Regions from separate parts of the Homo sapiens genome. Here region 1 is linked to region 2. Evidence: promoter capture Hi-C in human tissues and cell types (Jung and others, 2019). All regions are on one chromosome and are shown on one strand. Each heading gives the region's core, a stretch centred on a gene start or on the middle of the fragment in contact. The rest is flanking DNA. Distances are from core to core; before and after follow the strand shown.

The links. Contacts are between HindIII fragments. The study calls those that stand out against the background at their distance.
Region 1: a contact is called between a fragment that was not itself captured here and the fragment with the promoter of IFFO2 in region 2, in 1 of the 25 tissues and cell types used here (bladder).

What each region holds. Positions count from the first base shown.
Region 1 is chr1:19,276,852-19,283,740 of GRCh38, reverse strand. AKR7A3 (aldo-keto reductase family 7 member A3) reads left to right here. Exons shown (of 7, transcript NM_012067.3): 7 at 849-1,168. The coding sequence ends at 1,010. Among named protein-coding and RNA genes, the nearest start is that of AKR7A3, 8.5 kb to the left of the region's middle. RefSeq lists an enhancer at 1-114. The HindIII fragment of the contact is 8,144 bases long and covers 1-6,889 here.
Region 2 is chr1:18,950,713-18,958,071 of GRCh38, reverse strand. IFFO2 (intermediate filament family orphan 2) reads left to right here and starts at 1,396. Exons shown (of 9, transcript NM_001136265.2): 1 at 1,396-2,404. The coding sequence starts at 1,740. RefSeq lists silencers at 1,214-1,383, 1,954-2,213, 2,454-2,643 and enhancers at 5,691-6,020, 6,041-6,090, 6,291-6,430, 6,461-6,590, 6,972-7,359. The HindIII fragment of the contact is 10,098 bases long and covers 1-7,359 here.

The DNA of each region.
Region 1 (6,889 bases), core at 2,720-5,219, 320 kb before region 2:
TCTTGTCTCAGCCTCCCCAGTAGCTGGGATTACAGGCGTGCGCCACCATGCCCAGCTAATTGTTTGTATTTGTAGTAGAGACAGGGTTTCACCATGTTGCCCAGGCTGGTCTCAAATTCCTGAACTCAGACAATTCGCCCTCCTCAGCCTCTGAAAGTGCTGGGATTATAGGCGTGAGCCCCTGCGCTCGGCCTTCTCATTGGTCTTTGATGGTATCTGAGTGCCAGGCTTTGTAATGAGAGCTTCATTGCAGGGATTTCATTATTCCTTCAGCTTTATGAAATGACTATCCCAGTGTTATTGACGAGGAAACTGAGTTTCACCCAGCTATGAAAGGGGCAGACATTTTAACACAGGTTTAACTGTAAAGCCCACTAGTCTCATCCTTTTGGTGGGAGCTGGAGTTTCCCTCTCTCAGTGCCTCATGTCTTCCTCACTTATATCCAACTCCAGCCTTAGATGTTGCAATAGTGTCTGGCATATATACAGTAGGTGCTCAATAAATGGGAGCTAAGTGCTCTACATAATTTTTCACACCCATAACCATGTTGAAAATAGAAAAGAGGATTGAATCTCAGAGAGGTTTAATAACTTAGCCGCGTTTACACAGCTGCTGGGGGGCAGAACTGGGCTGTGAATGTAGGTCTGTCTGGAAGCGTCGTGTGGCAGTAGGGGAAGGGATACAGGTTTTGCGTCACATGGGTACAGCTATCCAAGGCACCTTAAGTTCTTTCTGGACATATGGGATACAAGAGATCCCAAATCTCAGCAGGGAGGTGGCTGGGACGGCTGTGAGTAGAGTCGCTGTGCAGCAGAAGAGGGTTGAAGTCTGGCCGTCTCCCTTGCAGGGTGCCCACGGGGACGCGGTCATCCTGGGCATGTCCAGCCTGGAGCAGCTGGAGCAGAACTTGGCAGCGGCAGAGGAAGGGCCCCTGGAGCCGGCTGTCGTGGACGCCTTTAATCAAGCCTGGCATTTGGTTACTCACGAATGTCCCAACTACTTCCGCTAGGCCCATCGTTTCTCAGGCTGCCCAAGGCTCTTCTGTAACATCTTTTGTTACTCACATTTTCTTTAATTTAGAACTGCCTCAGTAAATTCTTAGGGATGGAAGTATTTGGACAAAAACCTAATAGAAGAGTCACCACCAAATGAAGAATAAAACTCCCAGGGTGCTGTGTGTTAGTCTGTTTGCGTTGCTATAAAAGAATACCTGAGACTGGGTCATTTATAAAGAAAAGAGGTTTATTTGGCTCACCACTCTGCAGTCTGTACAAGGGGGTGTGGTGCCGGCATCTGCTCTTGGTGAGGGCCTCAGGAAGCTTACAGTCATGGCAGAGGGGGAAGCGGCGCCAGCGTGTCACATGGTGAGAGAGGGAGCAAGAGACAGACAGGGGAGGAAATTCCAGGCTCTTTTAAACAACCAGATCCTGTGTGAACTCATAGAGCTGGAACTCACTCATTACTATACAGATGGCACCAAGCCATTCATGTGGGATTTGCCCCCATACCCTAACCCCTCCCACCAGGCTCACCTCTAACATTGGGGATCACATTGCAACATGAGATTTGGAGGGGACAAAATACCCTGATGATATCATTGTACCAGTACCACCCCCCCGCAAATGTCATGTTCTTCTCACATTGCAAAGTACAGTCATCCCTTCCCAATAGTCACCCAAAGTCTTAACTTGTTTCAGCATCAACTCAATCATAAGGCCAAAGTCTCATCTGGGACTCAAGGCAAGTTTCATCCACCTATGAACCTGTATAATCAAACAAGTCATTTGCTTCCACGATACAGTGGTGGTACCCGTACTGGGTAAGATTCCCATTGCAAAAGGGGAATCAGCCAAAAGAAAGGGGCAACAGGCCCACGCAAGTCTGAAACCCAGTAGGGCAGGCGTGAAAATGTAAAGCTCCAAAATAATCTTTGACTCCATATCCCACATCCTGGGCACACTGGTGCAAGGGGTGGGCTTCCAGGGCCTTGGGCAAAATTCAATTGCTTAAAATGACAAAATCCCCAAGATGATAAGAAAATTCAACATAATCTTTGTCCAAATCCCAACTGGCTTTTTTATTTATTTTTATTTTTTTAATTTTTTGATATAGAGTCTCGCTCTGCCTCCCAGGCTAGAGTGCAGTGGTGCAATCTCGGCTCACTGCAACCTCCACCTCCTGGGTTCAAGTGATTCTCCTGCCACAGCTTCCTGAGTAGCTGGGATTACAGGTGTGAGCCACCCACCTGGTTAATTTTTGTATTTTTGTAGAGACTGGGTTTTGCCATGTTGTCCAGGCTGGTCTTGAACTCCTGACCTCAGTTGATGTGCCCCACTTGGTGCCTCGAATGCTGGGATTACAGGCATGAGCCACCACACCCAGCCAGCTTTTTTTTGAGAACACAGAAGTTGGAAAACTGGTTCTAAAATTCATAGCAAATTCAGGGCACCCAGGATACCCAAAACATGCTTGAAAAAGAACACAGTTGGAGGACTCCCACTTTCTGATTTCAGAACTTACTACAAAACTACATAGCCGGGCGTGGTGGTAGGCGCCTGTAATCCCAGCTACTCGGGAGGCTGAGGCAGGGAGAATTGCTTGAATCTGGGAGATGAAGGTTGCAGTGAGCCGAGATCAGGCCACTGCACTCCAGCCTGGGTGACAGAGTGAGATTCCATTCTCCGAACAAAACAAAACAAAAAACAAACAGAAAAAACAACTACAATGCTAAAGACAGTGTGGTCCTAGCATAAGGCTAGACATAAATCAATGGACTAGAATTTAGAGTCCAGCAGTAAACCCTTTCATGGTATTGTCAATTAATTTTAAAGAGCGTCAAGACAATTCAACAAGGAAAATAACCATCTTTAGGCCGGGCGCGGTGGCTCATACCTGTAATCCCAGCACTTTGGGAGGCCGAGGCAGGCGGATCATGAGGTCAGGAGATCGCGACCATCCTGGCTAACACAGTGAAACCCCGTCTCTACTGAAAATACAAAAAATTAGCTGGGCGTGGTGGCGGGTGCCTGTAGTCCCAGCTACTCGGGAGGCTGAGGCGGGAGAATGGTGTGAACCCAGGAGGTGGAGCTTGCAGTGAGCCAAGATCACGCCACTGCACTCCAGCCTGGGCGACAGAGCAAGACTCTGTCTCAAAAAAGAAAAGAAAAGAAAAGAAACGAAAAGAACCATCTTCAACAACATCTGGATATTTGCAAGTAAGAGAATGAAGTTGGACCCCTTCCTCATACCATACATAAGAAAATAAACACAAAGTGAGTCATAGACCTAAATGTATAGGCTAAAAGTATAAAAACTTTTAGAAGAAAATACAGGGCCAGGATGGTGGCACACTCCTGTAATCCCACCTACTGTGGTGGCTGAGGCACCGGAATCACTTGAACCCAGGAGGCAGAGGTTGCAGCGAGCCAAAATTGTGCCACTCCACTCCAGCCCGGGTGACAGAGCAAGACTCTGTCTGTCTCAAAGAAAGAAAAAGAAAATATAGAGATAAGTCTTGTGGCCTTGGATTGGGGAATTGTTCCTCAGAAGCACAAACAACAAAAGAAAAATTAAATTGGACATCATCAAAGTTTAGAACTCTTTTACTTTAAAGACTCCATAAAGAAAGTGAAATGACAACCCACAGAATGGGAGAAAATACTTGCAAATCATTTACCCGATGATGTTCTGTCTAGACCAGGGGTGTCCAATCTTTTGGTTTCCCTGGGCCACACTGGAAGAAGAAGAATTGTCTTGGGCCGCACATAAAATACACTCACACTAACGATGGCTGATGAACTTAAAAAAAAAAATCACAAGAAAATCTCATAATGTTTTGGGAAAGTTTATGAATTTGTGTCGGGCCACACATTCAAAGCCATCTTTGGGCTGCATGCGGCCTGCGGGTCGTGGGTTGGACAAGCTTGAATTATATAAAGAACTCTTATCATTCAACAATAACAATATCAATAATGCAATTGAAAAATGAACAAAGGATCCAAATAGAACTTTCTCTAGCAAAGATATACAGATGGTCAGTAGACAGATGAGAAAGCGCTCAACATCATTACCCATGAGGGAAATAAAAATAAAAACCACAATGTGTTTCCACTACTTCACACCCACTAGGATGGGAGTAGTAAGACAGACAGACGATAGAAGTGCCGTAGAGAAACTGGAATCTTCATATGCTGATGGTGGGAATGTAAAATGGTACAACCACTTTGGAAAATAGTTTGGCAGTTCCTCAGAGGATTAAACATAAAATTACCATAGGATTCAGCAGTTCCACTTGTGGGTATATAGCCAAGAGAAGTGAAAACATATCTCCCCACAAAAAACTTGGGCATGAGTTTTCACAATATCATTACTCATAATAGCCAATAAGTAAAAACAACCCAAATGTCCATCAATGAATGAAAGGATAAACAAAATGTGGTATATTCATACAACAGACTATTATTCGGCTGTTAAAAAAAATAATAAAAAAGTAGCTCACGCCTGTAATCTCAGTACTTTGGGAGGCCAAGGCAGGAGGATTAATTGAAGACAGGAGTTCCAGACCAGTCTGGACATAGAAGTGAGACCTTGTCTCTAGTAAACATAAAAAGAAAATTAGCTGGGTTCTGTGGCACACACCTGTAGTCCCAGCTACTCAGGAAGCCGAGGTGGGAGGATTGCTTGAGCCCAGGTATTCAAGGCTGGAGTGAGCTATGATTATGCATCACTGCACTGCAGCCTGGGTGACAGAGCAAACCATGTTTCTAAATACATAAATAAGTAAATAAAATGAAGTAATGAAACACCTACAAGGTAAATGCACCTTGAAGACTTGTAAAATTAAAGACGCCAATTGCAAAAGGTTTCATATTGCATGATTTGATCTGTATGAAATGTCCAGAATAGGCAAATCTGTTTGAGAGAGAGAAAGTAGATGAGTGCTTGCCTAGGACCGGGAGGAGGTTTGCGAGGAAATAGAGATTCACTGCTAATAAGTACAGGGTTTCTTTTGGGTGCACTTATGAGGATGCTCTGAAATTGATTGTGATGGTTGTACACCTCTGAATACATGAAACAGCATTAAATCATCACTTTAAGTCAACTGTATAGTGTCTGAATTATGTCTCAATACAGTAGTTTTTTTGTTTTTGTTTTTGTTTTTGTTGTTTTTTTCTTTTTTGAGATGGAGTCTCACTCTGTGGCCCAGGCTGGAGTGCAGTGGCGCGATCTTGGCTCATTGCAACCTCCGCCTCCTGGGTTCAACCAATTATCTTGCCTCAGCCTCCCAAGTAGGTGGGACTACAGGCGTGTGCCACCACATCTGGCTAATTTTTTATGTATTTTTTAGTAGAGATGCGGTTTCATCATGTTAGCCAGATGGTCTCAATCCCCTGACCTCATGATCTGTCTGCCCTTGGCCTCCCAAAGTGCTGGGATTACAGGTGTGAGCCACTGCGCCTGGCCAATACAGTTGTTTTTAAAAAACAAAACAGGCCGGTCATGGTGGTTCATTCATGCCTGAAATGCCAGAACTTTGGGAGGCCCAGGCAAGGGGAATCTCTTGAACCCAGGAGTTTGAGACCCCTTCCCCATACCACACACAAAAAAACTAACTCAAATGAATCACCCACCTAAATGTATAAGGTAAAACTGTAAAACTCTTAGAAGAAAATACTGGAGTAAGTATGACTTTGGATTAGGCAGTGGTTTCTTAGATATTGACACCAAAAGCACACGTGGCAAAAGAAAAAGTAAAATCAACACCATCAAAGTTTAGAATGTTCGTGCTTCAGAGAACTATCAAGAAAGTGAAAAGACAAGCCACAGAATGGGATAGTATTTTGCAAATCACATATCTGTAAAGAAACTTGTAGCTGCAATAGATACAGGACTCTTACAACTTAATTAAAGAAAAGACCCACCTAGGTGCAGTGGCTCATGCCTGTAATCCCAGCACTTTGGGAGGCTGAGGTGGGAGGATCCCTTGAGGCCAGGAGTTCGAGACCAGCCTGGCCAACATGGCGAGACGCTGTCTCTACTAAAAATACAAATATTAGCCAGGTGTGGTGGCACATGCCTGTAATTCCAGCTATTCGAGAGCTGAGGCACGAGAATTGCTTGAACCTGGGACACCGAGATTGCAGTGAGCCGAGATCGCACCACTGCACTCCAGCCTGTACAACAGAGCGAGACTTTGTCTCAAAAAAAAAAAGTAAATGCTTACATTATTGATTTGAGATATTTCTTCTTTTATAGTATGTCAAAGTGGTGCTATAAATTTCCCTCTTAGCACTACTGTGGCTGCATCTCAGAAAATTTGACATGTCATGTTTTTACTTTAATTCAGTTCAAATTATGATCTAATTTTCCTTGAGATTACATCTTTGATCCATGGGTTATTTAATTTCCAAATACGTGGGGATTTTCCAGACATCACTCCGTTATTATTTTCTATTTTTCCTTTTTCTTCTATTTATTTATTTACCTATTTACTTATTTTCAGTTCCCTCTCAGGCTCTAAGTTCTGTTATTATTTTCTAGTTTAATTCCATTGTGTTCAGAGATGTACTTTGTATTATTTAAATCCTTTCAAATTTATTTGTTTATTTTTTTCTTTTCTTTTTTTTGAGACGGAGTCTCACTCTGTTGCCCAGGCTGTAGTGCAGTGGTGCAACCTCGGCTCACTGCAGCCTCCACCTGCTGGGGTCAAGGGATTCTCCTGCCTCAGCCTCCTGAGTAACTGGGATTATAGGCATGAGCCACCACGCCCGGCTAATTTTTGTACTTTTAGTAGAGATGGGGTTTCACCATGTTGGCCAGGCTGATCTAGAGAACCCCTAACCTCAGGTGATCTGCCTGCCTCAACCTCCAAAAGTGTTTGGATTACAG
Region 2 (7,359 bases), core at 147-2,646:
CATGTAAGACAGTGTGCCTGTCCTCAAGCTTACATACAAAGAGACAAAACAAACACAAAAGTTAATAACAAGACAAAAATTAAACTGCTAGTAAAAAATGCAGTCGGAAGTATCTGAAACATGCCACATATCTGGTTAAGTGCATACAATGCAAGCCACAGGCGTTCAAAGGTGGGGGTTCAAGGTGGGGGTCACCTCCCCTCTGAGGTTTGCGGTGAGGACCAAATGCGGAAATGGACACGAGGCCCGAGGCCAGCATTGTGGAAGGCCGGTTAGAGCATGCACTTTGGACCATTGTGGCTACTTAACGTCTCAGTGACCTTCTCTGTAAAATGGGGATAATAAATAAGTATGGCGCCTGACATATACTAATGTTTGCAACACGGTTCAGGAGACACCAGAGACTGGAGAACTTGGCCTTTAACGTGGTAGGTGTGAAAACATTTGAATGAATGAATGAATGAATGAATGGGTCCTCGGGTTGCCTCGGTCTGCCCCAGGCGGCCCGCTAAGCCCCATGTCTGTGAAATGAATCCCCAGCTCTCGGGGTCAGCTTCATCTCAGCGTGTGGGTGTGGGTGGTGGGGAGGTGCTGAGCAGCTCAGCAGAGGCGAGGCCCAGGCCGAGTTTGTGGGTGTCATCCCGGGAGGGTCTTGCTCGGCCTCCCCAACCCCCATGCTGCTCGGCTCCTCAGTGGGCGGGGGAACCAGCGGGCTTAGCTGTGCCCGGGCCGATCTCGAGAGGACAAGGCCCGCAGCTAGCATTCGAGGAGCCCACCCCCGGGTCCGCAGCGTGGGGCACGGGCGCCCTCTTATCCCCGAAAGGTCGATCTGGGCCTCCCCAGGCTAGAGTGGGGGTGGGGTGCCGATGCACCTTCGGATACTGTGGTCCCCCAGCCCTTCCAGCCGCGGTCGCGCACATCCGAAGGAATTTGGGGCCAGGGGCATTGCGGGCAGAGAGGACAGAGAAACGGAGCCCTCTCGGCAGGCGACGTGGGAGAGGAGCGCCCTAAAAAGTGGAAAGCGAGCGTTGCCGAGGCTGCTGGCCCCTTTAAGAGGCCCGGCTGGCTCTGCGGCGGTTCCAGCTAACCCGGTCCCTGGTGCAGCTCTGCGGTCCGGGTCCCCCAGCAGAGAATCGGCACCCGGCGGGGAGGCAGGACCAGACGCAGGAGAGGGCGTGGCCCCGCCGGGGAGCTGGGCGGAGTCTATGCTGCGGAGAAAGCGGGAGAACCCGGAGGTGGGCGGAGCCGAGGGTCTGTGGGTGGGGCCCGGCGCTGCGGGCCTCGTGGGGCGGAGCCTCGGGCTCGGGGAACGCCGCAGAGGGAGGAGGGGTGGGCGGGGCCGCGGCGGGGGCGGGGCCAGTGTCTGCAGTGGGCGGGGCCCGCCGCAGAAGGGGCAGTGCCGGCCGAGAGTCCTCTGCGTGCGGCTGCCGCGGCCCCTCCACAGCGTCTCTGACAGCCCGGGCGGTGAGACCCGCGACCCTTCTGGCCCCGCGCAGATACCGCGGCCTCCACCGCGTCCCGAGGAGCGGCCGAGTGCCCTCTCTCGCCTCGGCGCCCGCATCCGGGGCCATCCGTCCTGCCGTCTCTGCGGAGGCCGCATCTGGCGCGCATCTGGAACCGCCCGGCCGGCCGCGCTGGAGCCCGCGCCCACCCTGGCCCGGCCGCGCCGGGAGCCCTGCCCGGAGCTGGAGCCGCACCTGGAGCCGCGGGCCCGGGGCCCTGAGCCGCGCAGCCGGCGCATGGTGAACTCGCTGCTGTTCGGGGAGATGGCCTTGGCCTTCGGCTGCCCGCCGGGCGGCGGCGGCGGGGGCTGCCCTGGCGGGGGCGGCGGCGGCGGCGGGGCAGGGCCGGGTCCGTCGCCGGTGACGGCGGCGCTGCGGGACGACCTGGGCTCCAACATCCACCTCTTGAAGGGGCTCAACGTGCGCTTCCGCTGCTTCCTGGCTAAGGTGCACGAGCTGGAGCGGCGCAACCGGCTGCTGGAGAAGCAGCTGGAGCAGCAGCAGAGCGAGCGCGAGCGGCGGCTGCGCTACAAGACCTTCTCCCGCGAGCAGGCCGTGCAGACCGGGCCCGAGTTGCTGCGGCCCCCGGCGCCCGGCGGCGGGCACGGCCTCAGCAGTGGCGCGGCGGCCGGCGCCAACGCCAATGCCGTGGCCCTGGGCGGCCTGCCCCCCGGCGGCGGCTCGCACCCGCAGCACTACGGCCGCCTGCCCGGGACCATCTGGAGCTACACGCAGGTGCGGCGCACGGGCGGCGGCGGCGTGGAGACCGTGCAGGGCCCCGGCGTGTCGTGGGTGCACCCCGACGGCGTGGGCGTGCAGATCGACACCATCACGCCGGAGATCCGCGCGCTCTACAACGTGCTGGCCAAGGTGAAGCGCGAGCGCGACGAGTATAAGCGGAGGTGAGTGGCCGCCCCTCCCCCGCCGCCCTGGGACGGGGCGCCCAGGTCCAGGCTGCCGCGGAATGCGTATGCGGGACGGGGGCCGGGCGGGCAGCTGGTACTGGCAGGTGGGCTGGAAGCTGTGTTTGCAGAGCGTCTTACGTACGCCAGGAAGGCCCAGTTATCTAGATCCCAGGATGGGGGCGGGCGCTGGCTACCGTGGGGGCCACCTCGATGCTGTCACTGGTGAGGCACATTGTTTTCTAGGTGACATAATAACTGTCTGTGTTTTATGCGATCTCATTTAATTCTCAGCACAATACAGCGTATTGTGTAAGGCAGTCTTATCCTCATCTCGCAGATGAGGAAACCGAGGTGCAGAAATGCTAAGTGATTTGCCTAAGGTGGCTTGGCGAGTAAGTGGTGAAACCGGGATTTCAACCAGAGATTTTAACCACTCCTGGCTAGTCTGTCTCCTAGCATAAGTATTTTTACCAAGGAAGTAGGAAATATGCTCCCCTCCCTCAACATATGAAAAGAAAAACTCTAACCAACCCACTGCCTTTTTATTTCTTGAATTAAATGAGATCACGTTTTTGAAAATGGATGGATCTGCCCCTACCCCCTGGGGCCAGTGTCTGCCGTCTTGCTCCAGCTCTGTAAGGTCCAGCTTGCTGGGTTGGATAACCACAACTACAACAGACTGCTCACAAGCTTTTATAAAATGCCTCCTTTCATCCCTCTTCTCCCCACTCCCTGAGTCTCATGGTTTATTGAGCCCTAACAAACTCAGCCTTAAAAGCCCCCAGGAGAAGATAATGTTGGGCTGGAGACTGGACATTGAATGGACTGAGACCACAATCTCTGGCTAGAACTGGGGTCCAGACTCTGCAAGACTGGCCAGTGCATTCCTGCCTAGCCCAGATTCCCCAGCTGGGAAACTGTCATTGCTTCCTGTCTGCAGTCTGGCCGACAATACTGTCTGCTTGGCTTTCCGATAAGAGGAGAGGGGTCTCCTATCCTCCTCCTCTTCCCATAAGAGAAGAAGGGTCTGTCTTTGGCATCTCAGGCCTGGCTGGGGAAGGGGCCCTCTGGCCCTGGCAATCGCTGTTCCAGGCACAGGCAGCCTTCCATTCGGAGCTATTGGCTCTGAACTCCAGGGCTTGGAGGATGTACTGAGAAGGACCCTTCCTTCCATCTCTAAAGGTCTGTCCAGGGAGCTGGGCATAGGTCTCCTTCCGTATTCTCCCATTGGACAGGCTAGCAACTGGGTAGGATTCAAATGCCAGCCTTATACCTGCTGGTGAGATTATCAAATCACTTGAAAGCCTGTTTGCTCATCAGAGAAATGGGAATAATAAAATCTGCCCACAGTTGCTCGAGGAGACAGCAGGATGGTGATGCTCTTTGGGAGGTATAAAGTAATCATGCTGGTGTTATTAAAGATGATAGGCACTTTGTCAAGCTAGCAGGGAGTAGAAATGCTGAGAGTCCTCAAGCTCTCTCATGTGGCGCCTAGCTTCCTGGGGGTAGGTCTTACACTCCACTGGGAGACGGGCTTCTCTCCTGGGTTACCTGTTTCTCTGGAGGACTTGAGAATGGCCCGCCTGGTGCCTTGCCACAGGGAGGCCACCTCGCCGCCCCTCATGGTCAATGTCATTGGGGCAGGCTAGGGAAGCAGGCACTTGCTCTCAATGGTGAAACTGGGGAGGGATGGGCCGGGCCCTCCTGTCTGCCACTGTTGATTGTGTTGTCATGCCTCAGGCTTGTGTTGTGTTTGTTTTATTGTGTGTGTGCTTTTTGGACCTGGCTACTAAGGTGATGGAAAAACCGTGCCCAGTCTTGGAGGGAGATGGGTTGGCATTGAGCAACGATCTATTCAAGTTGCACCCAGGGCGTGGGGTGTGATGTCAGCTTCTGGCGCTGGCCTGGAATGAGACGGTGCTGCTGAGACAGGTGGAGTGCGGGCGTCTCTCTTCCCGCCCTTCTGGGATGCGTGCACACCTTGTCTTCCATTTATTTTCTGAAGTTAACTCAAGACTCATGTTGGATTTTTCCAAAGCAGGTATATTCCTTTCCTGGGGCCTCAGTTTCCCCGTCTGTGAAGTGAGGTTGAGGGGGGGCTAGAATTGCGGTCCTTGAAACCCCAGGCTTTCTTAGAGATGCTTTAGGGTTTCCTTGAATATCTAATAAAAATGATCATTTAAAAGAACATTAAGACGTTAATACAGTGATAAAAATGTGCTCACCCACCTTTAAGTTCTTAATATTAACTCACTGGGTTCTACTAACATGCTAACTTGTTAGTAGTATGTTTTGGGTATCCCTAAGAATTTTCTTTGGGGAGGAGGGCAGACATTTGATAAACATTTTTTAAAAAGTTGAAAAACCACTGGGCTAGATGATCTCAAAGGGTCTTCCCAGCCTTGGCAATATATAAATCTGAGTTTGAGCTCCCAGCCCGCTTCTGATCCCCTGGCCATAAGAGAAGTCACCGTCTAAGGGATGAGACCCAGGTGTCTGCCTGGACTGTTGTGGCCATGAAGGGCTTTAAATCATCCCAGGATATCTATTACAGAACTCCAAGCAATGATGCCCAGAAGGAGCCTAACCCAGAAGGGAAAGGTTCCAGGGTTTCCCCTGGTCCACCTGGAGGAAGCTGCAGCTCCAGAGACCCCCACTTGCTTCCCCAAAGGACAACTTAGGCTGCGAGGCTCAGCGATCTTCAAGCCGGACGCTTGTTGAGTTCCACCTCCATGATTTCTGGCCACATCCATGTACTACCGCCTGTGCTATTACGTACATAAAATATTTTAACAACTTCATTGAGGTACAACTTGCATATCACAAAAACTGCCCATTTTAAGTGTACAAGTCAAGATGAGTAAATTCACAGAGTTGTGCAGTCATTACCACAATCCCGTTTTAGGGCATTGCATCAGCCCCCAAAAAGATCCTTCATGTCCATTTACAGAAAATTCCAATTCCAAGCCCAGCCCAGGTAATCACTGACCTGCTCTGTCTCTAGAAACTAGCCTTTTCCGGACATTTCATAGAAATAGAAACATACACTCTGCAGTCTTTTGTGTTTGGCTTTTTTCACTTAGAGAATTTTTTTTGAAGTTCATCCATGTTGTAGCATGTATTTGTAGGCTGTTCCTTTTTATAGCTAAAAATATTCCTCTGTAGTATAGACCATATTGTGTTTATGAATCCACCCAGGTATTCAATGTATTTTAAATTTAAAACGTCAACTGTATACCACCGAGCATCATCTCATGTGCCATCAGTGGTCCACAAACTGTGCTTTGGAAACACCAACCCAAACCAGAGCCCCTGGCCTGGGGTGCCTGGGTCCTGGCCCCAGTCACCACTGCTTTGGTTTTCCCTTGGCCCAACCAGGTCTTTACCACGTGGGAAATGTGGTCGCTGAAGCCGCAATGAGGACGAGGTTGTCAAGCGTTGATTTGGAAACCAAAACAAACATCTCTACTCTGTCACCACCCAGGGCCACTAAAATATCTTGTTCTGACTTTGCAAGCTGGGGGCTTTTCCCTGGAGTTTCCCACTGAGTTTATCTGAACTCAACAGTGGAGAGTTCCCTGAGTTGGCATCCAGGAGACCTGGACTTTAGGTCCAGCTCTGCCACTAGGTGCTGTGTGACCTCTGGCCAACCGCTGCCCTCTCTGGGCCTCAGCTCCTCCACCTTTACATGCAGGAGTTCCTGTGGGTGATCTCTCTCAGCTTGCTCTCTACTTTAGGTCAGTGACTCCAAGAGGCCCGTGTTGTGGCTGATCTTTCTGCCTCTGGAGACCACACTGTGTTCGCTGAAGCCTTTCTCTGTTCTGGGCTTCCCCTTCCCTCTCCTATCTCTGCCCCAGATAACTAGGGTCCAGGCTCCAGGCATAGGCAGCGCTGGCCATCCCATCCCCAGGCTTAACCGGTTCAACCGTTTCCCCTGTCTTCATTGGCTCCAAGGAAGGATGCAGGAAATCTTTAAGGCTGTCAAGAAAAAGGTCCCTCCAGCCTGGCAGCTGTCACAAAGTTGCCATGGACTGGTAGGGGAAGTTGCCCTGGGCTGGTAGAGGAAGTTGCCCGGCGCTAGTAGTGCTGGCCTAGCTGCCTATCAGACAGGGCGACTCTTTTGGGGGCCTGGTGTCCCTGTCCAGAAGCCTGTCCAGCCATCCTGGCCCCCTCAGGCCTAGTGTGATTTGCAGCTGGCTGGCCTGGTTCCCTCCCGTGCGAGTGGCTGACTGTATGCGCCCCCCAGTTGAAGTCAGCCTGGAGGCTAGGTTTCTTTTTTTCCTGGTGCCTGGGGTGATTGGAGGGTGGTTTGGGAGCCTGGAGAGACCACTGTGATCATTCAGCCTGGTGGCTTTCAGGTGGGCTTTTTAGAGCCCTGGAGTCCATAGCAGGGCGCCTTGGGAGACTCGGGGGACAGTGGGAGGCTGAGTACCTGAGATTTGACCCATGTTGCCCACCATAGCTCCATGCCTCTCTGACTCCCAGACTGTCCAAAAAGTATTCCATTTTAAAAAGGGTTCTGCTGTTTTAAAAAGAAAGAAACCGCTGATTCAGCTGAGTACTTTCATTTTAAAGGTGGGGAAACCAAGGCCCAGAGGGGGGCTGGCCCTCAGTGCTGAGCTGGACAGACCTTCCATCTGCCGTGCAGAGCTGGCCTCCCCGCCTCGACATGATGCCCGCATCATCCGCCAGCAGTCGAGGCTTTGTTATGTTCTTTCCACCTTTTTGTATGTCTGTTTTAAACATTTTTTTAAAAAGCCACTTTCTGGGATGGGAGGGACTTTTGTCACAGCTATTTCTGACTGTGAGCCGGAAGGGGCTGGGCTGTCGGCTGGAATGGAGGACTCCAAAAAGGGATGGTGGGTGGGTCAGCTGGAGTGTCCCCCGCCCATTCCCGTCACACCCCAGGGGGGCCCTCAAGCAGGTGGGTGCTGGCCCCTGAATGTCCCGAA